Regions from separate parts of the Homo sapiens genome. Here region 1 is linked to region 2. Evidence: promoter capture Hi-C in 16 types of primary human blood cells and fetal thymus (Javierre and others, 2016). All regions are on one chromosome and are shown on one strand. The core of a region is centred on a gene start or on the middle of the fragment in contact, and the rest is flanking DNA. Distances in the headings are between cores, read along the strand shown. Region 1 holds the start of CNTN4-AS1 (CNTN4 antisense RNA 1). Region 2 holds the start of SETMAR (SET and mariner transposase domain methyltransferase).

Region 1 (2,700 bases), core at 64-2,563, 1.2 Mb before region 2:
TATATTGCTGCTTGAGATTTTTTTCTGAAGGAGGACCACTAGGAAAATTTGCTTTGCTTGTTTAACCTTTCAAAGTGCTTACTCTTGCCCTCCTTTTTGTGTGTGTAGTCCACTTGTGATTTAACTGTATGAAAGGAAATTCTATTGTGCCAGATATTTGGATTCTCTCAGTGTACCTACTTTCTATGGAGCCCACACATGCTACATACAAAGCAGCACCTTTCCATGGGCACAGAAGACATGGATGATAAGCTTCATTTCTCAGGTAAGCTCTGAATTCTTCCAGCCTGTGAGGTAGAAGGTGCATAGACTTTGATATTAAGAAAGAATGATTGTGTTATTCCCACCATCAAAATTGTGGTTGTTTATATCCAGGAGGCAATGTTAAATCCTGATTAACCTTTACCCAGTCTCTTCCACCACCTTGCCTCACTACAAATATGCGCAAAGAATGTTGAGTTATAAAAAGTATACAAATAGCACATAATTAGCAACAAAAATGTCATGCAGTTTTTAATCTAATGTAATCAACCAACAGGTGATTTTTGTTCACTACATTGGATTATCGATGCTACTGTTCTCCTCCGTTAACACTTATAATCAAGAAGTGACTGTTATTTTCCTGTTGTTACAATTTACAAAATGTTCTGGCTAAAAACGTTATGTGGCCAACCATAGTGCTTTGAAAGGCAAGCCTTTAAAATCAAGGACTTATATTCAATCTGTGGACATACCCCAGATTTTTCCATTACAAAATGCCAGACACTGAGGCCTTACAAAGGCAGCCTAATACAAAGACTAAGGACGTGGATCCTGGAGTTTGACTGCCTGGGGTGCATTGTAATGATTGGCTACTTATTAGGGAGGATAAAGTTTGTAAAGCTCTCCAAACAGTGATGATTTTACCGTCTGTTATTGTTCTTTTTCTCCAGGGACTTTACTAGACCCACAGATGTAGGATGTGGATGCTTCTTATCACCAAAATGAGTGGAACTCAGCTGACACATCCATTATCACCTTTTATTTAAACATGATCACTTCTTAATATAAATTTTAATGTTCGATAATTTTAATCATACAATCAACTAATTCAAACTTAGGCAGTAGGGTTCCCATTCAGATGCCAGGTTTTGCACAAAGCCTCCCTCAGCTTCCCCATCTGAAATTGACCTTGCATTTCTCTGACCTCCAGGGGATGGGGTCTGTACCCACTCATGTCAGTCATCCCTTCGTACCTTATATTTAAATCATTTTTGTTGGTGTCTTCCGCCTTATAGTAGACACACGGCACCTCAGCGTTGGCATCTGGGTGTGGTTCCTCATTGTGCTCCCAGGCACAAGGCCTGTGTCACCTCCATCTCAGACCTAGAGGGAGGAGAATATCTGGCCCCGTTTCCTGTGATTTCCTCAGGCCCCCTGCCAGAGTGTGATTAGTAAATGCAAGTCAGGCTGCCCATTCTGCAAAGAGGCCCCGTTTCCCCTTGTGCTAAATGGGCCATGCGGATTAAATGTTCCAGCTCTGCAACTCACCTGCAAACTACAATACTCAACAGAGATCACAGTTTAAACAAAATTGGCCTCTATCCTTTATCACAAGCAGTTATGGGCCATGGTAGATTAGCAGAGCTCTAGTGATATAGATCACATAGAGAGAAAGCTTTTTTTAAAAAAGGTCAACCATATGATCGATCTGAAAGTCTGGAAATTGGAAGGCTGAGCTACTTAAATATAGATGCAATTACATGTGATATCCCCATTCTCTGTAAACTGGGTTTTTGCCACATATCCTTATTGTTAGGAATAACACGAACTATACCAGGAAATATATATGTCCTAGGACTTTAACAAATAGTAATATCTTTAATTTGTTTTTCTAGTTTTCAAAGTGCTTTTCACACTAATAAGGGGAGGACATAGGTTTTTATTCCTTTTTTATTTATGAAATGGAAGCAAAGAGGTTATATAAGAAGCCCAAAGTAACATAGACAATTAGAAAGTCAGGGCTGGGCATGGTGGCTCACACCTGTAATCCCAGCACTTTGGGAGACTGAGGTGGGGGGATCACAAGGTCAAGAGTTCGAGACCAGCCTGGCCAACATGGTGAAACCCCATTCCTACTAAAAATACAAAAATTAGCTGGGCATGGTGGCACGTGCTTGTAGTCCCAGTTACCCAGGAGGCTGAGGCAGGAGGATTGCTTGAACCTGGGAGGCAGAGGTTGTAGTGAGCTGAGATTGCCCTACTGCACTCTAGCCTGGGCAAGAGAGTGAGACTCTGTCTCAAACAAAAGAAAAAAAAAAAAAGAAGGACTAGAATTTAGAACATAGACTCATTAGTGCATTTCATACACCTAGAAATAAGTACTTAGAGAAAGGACAGGATGGAGTAAGGAACTAGACTCTGAAGTTCAACTAGAGAACATTCTAGGACAAGTAGGTAGGCCAGAGGAAATGGTGAGGTAGAAGGGTGAGATGTCTGAGGTTCAGATGCTGGAGGTGGAGAAGTTCTGAGTGCCGGCCAGGCCCAGGGCACAGCCATCTGGAGGAATGGGATAGGATAGGTGCCTGGAGAGGGTTTTAGTTATTCAGCAAGGGACTACTGGCAGCCCTCTCTGTACCAGGCACTATTCTGGGCATAGAAGAATGATGTGGCATTCAGATGTGTGTGAGGAAGCCAAGGCACCAGTAACAGTATTTTGTC
Region 2 (2,700 bases), core at 104-2,603:
AGAGGATACTAACAAGGAAAGGTCTGCAAGATGGAAACACATTTAGGCCAATGGGACCTCAGAAGCTGCAAGGTCAGAAGGGTTTGTGAACCCAAAATTATCTGAGACAGGTCTCAATTTAGAAAGTTTATTTTCCCAAGCTTAAGAATGCGCCCCCAACATAGCCTCAGGCAGTCCTGATGACATGTGCCCAAGGTGGTTGGGATACAGCTTACTCTCACACATTTTAGGGAGACATAATACATCAATCAATACATGTAAGATTGGTTGGATCTGGAAAGGCAGACAACGAGAAGCGGGTGAGGGGTGGCTTCCAGGTCATAGGTAGATTTAAAGATTTTCTGATTGGCAACTGGTTATTATCTAAAGACCTAAAATCAATAGAAACGAATGTCTGGGTTGCAATAAGAGGTTGTGGATACCAAATTTGATCGTGGAGATGAAGCCTCCAAGAGGTAAATTTCAGAGAACAGATTGTAAATGTTTCTTATCAGACTTAAGGTGTGTGTTGATGTTGATGCTGGCTGGCTTTTCCTGAATTCCAAAAGGAAGAAGGGCATAATGAGGCATGTTGGACCCCCCTTCCCATCATGGCCTGAACCACTTTCTCAGGTTAACCTTGGCAGAGAGGAGGGGTCCCTTCAGATGGTTTGGAGGATTGGAATTTTATTTTTGGTTTACAGTTTCAAGGAGAAGCAGGACAATCATGTCAGAGAGCTTCAGTGAGGTTGAAAATGCTCCACCGGATTCAGCAGTCTTGAGGCTATCAGAATCCTTTGGCAGGGCAGGGGTTTGGAGGGGTGAGGGTAGAGGGATGGAGAGGAGGGAAAAGGACAGGCAAAGGGGCACGGATACCTCCATCAGGGAGTGAGCATGCCCCCACACAAATTCCTTAAGGCACCCTGTGAGGCTATCGCCTTGGCACAAACCCTATCACATGTCAGTCAACTTCCCGGCAAGCCGCAGACCTTTAGAAACCTTGGTGTGCGTTTCCCCGCTCGGTTTAGAACGCACCCCTGCCTCCACTCCACAAACGTGCAGTGAGCCCTCAAAAACCTGGACAAATGACCTCACCTCGAAAGCCCCCTCTCTGATGCTCCCAGGAAAAACTAAAGCACCTCACTTTGTTTCGTCCGTACCTTACATGGTTTTGTAATTATCTGTGGTGCCTCTGGCTGAAATCAAAACGGGAGCCAGACCCAAAAAGTCAAGGAAGGGAAGCGCCTTCCAGGCCACTCCTGAGAAGAAACGAACTACAATTCCCATGAGGCGGTGGGGCCACGGGACCACAAGTCCCAGCATCCACCGCGCGGCCCAGGACTGTCAGGGTAGTGGGCGTTGCGTGAGGCGGGTAAATGTTCGCGGAAGCGGCAAAGACGACACGGCCTTGTGGGATGGCGGAGTTTAAGGAGAAGCCTGAGGCCCCGACTGAGCAGCTGGATGTCGCGTGCGGCCAGGAAAACTTGCCGGTGGGCGCGTGGCCCCCGGGGGCCGCGCCGGCGCCCTTCCAGGTAGGGGCGGGGCCAGGCGGCGCGGGAGGCGGGCGCGCGGCTCCCCCACGTGGTCTCCTCAAGCCGCCTCGCTGGGACGGCCTCCCAGTCGCGACCTTTTGTCTTCTCTTACAGCGCACCCGTTGGTGCGCGGGAATAGGTGTGCATGCCCCGGCCTGGGCCTTTTTCTGTTGACCCACGGCATCACCTTAGCAAGGGTGTTGTCCTTTTCAGTCCATTCCCTGAAGCGCAGAACCGGAGGCCTTGTGAGAACCTGGCTTTTTGTCCAGTCCTGTCCTCAGAACTCAAGGAGGCATCACGGGGGGAGTCATTTACCTCCCTGGTCTCAGGTGTCTCTCACAGGTAGGATAAGCCGTGGGGCCTATTAATGGATCGCAGCCGGTGTCGTGCATAAAAACAGCCCCTCGAGTCAGCCTTAGCTGTGGTCTCCCTCACGCTGTGGGCTCTTGGGCGAGTGTAAATTAGCTGTGGCTCAGCCTTAGAGTCTTCCAGCGTACAGTGGAACAGTACCTCTCTTCCGGAGTGCTTTGAAAATGGCAAGGAAAATACACTTTCCGGTTTGCTGTAAGAACTCAGTAAATGTTTGCTTCTATTAACTACCTCAAAGCCCTTTCTACTCTCCTTTTTCTTTTTGAGACTGAGTCTCGCTCTGTCGCCCAGGCTGGAGTGCACTGGCGCGATCTCGGCCCACCGCAACCTCCACCTCCCGGGTTCAAGCGATTCTCCTGCCTCAGCCTCCCGAGTAGCTGGGATTACAGGCATGGGCCACCACGCCCGGCTAATTTTTGTATTTTTAGTAGAGACAGGGTTTCTCCATGTTGGTCAGGCTGGTCTCGAACTCCCAACCTCAGGTGATCCGCCCGCCTCGGCCTCCCAAAATGCTGGGATTACAGGCATGAGCCACGCTCCCAGCCTCTACTGACTTTCTTATCCCTCCGACCTTGGCCTGAGCGTTACCCAAGGAATAAGGAATGACCAAAGATTTTGAAGTGGAAAGAGCGCTGGACGTGGAAGTTGGAGAGTATGGTTCGGAGCTTAGACATCTTAGCTACTTCCCAGAGCCTGAGTTTCTTCATCTGCAAAATGAAAATAATAATTTAAAAATGCATAGCCCCTTTAACATCCATTATCAACAATGAACCCTATCTGCCCTTTCTTTTTCCTAGGGGTTTTTGTGAGGATCAGATAA

What was found. Contacts are between HindIII fragments. The CHiCAGO score rates a contact against its expected background, and 5 or more counts as called.
Region 1: a contact is called between the fragment with the promoter of CNTN4-AS1 here and the fragment with the promoter of SETMAR in region 2, in 9 of 17 cell types (activated CD4 T cells, total B cells, total CD4 T cells and 6 more). The highest score is 14.1, in activated CD4 T cells.

What each region holds. Positions count from the first base shown.
Region 1 is chr3:3,059,832-3,062,531 of GRCh38, forward strand. CNTN4-AS1 (CNTN4 antisense RNA 1) reads right to left here and starts at 1,314. Exons shown (of 4, transcript NR_046554.1): 1 at 1,236-1,314. The HindIII fragment of the contact is 1,405 bases long and covers 251-1,655 here.
Region 2 is chr3:4,302,016-4,304,715 of GRCh38, forward strand. It overlaps SETMAR (SET and mariner transposase domain methyltransferase), which reads left to right and starts at 1,354. Exons shown (of 3, transcript NM_006515.4): 1 at 1,354-1,511. The coding sequence starts at 1,356. It also overlaps a transcript of SUMF1 not described here. RefSeq lists enhancers at 951-1,693, 1,722-1,791 and a silencer at 1,292-1,631. The HindIII fragment of the contact is 4,274 bases long and covers 139-2,700 here.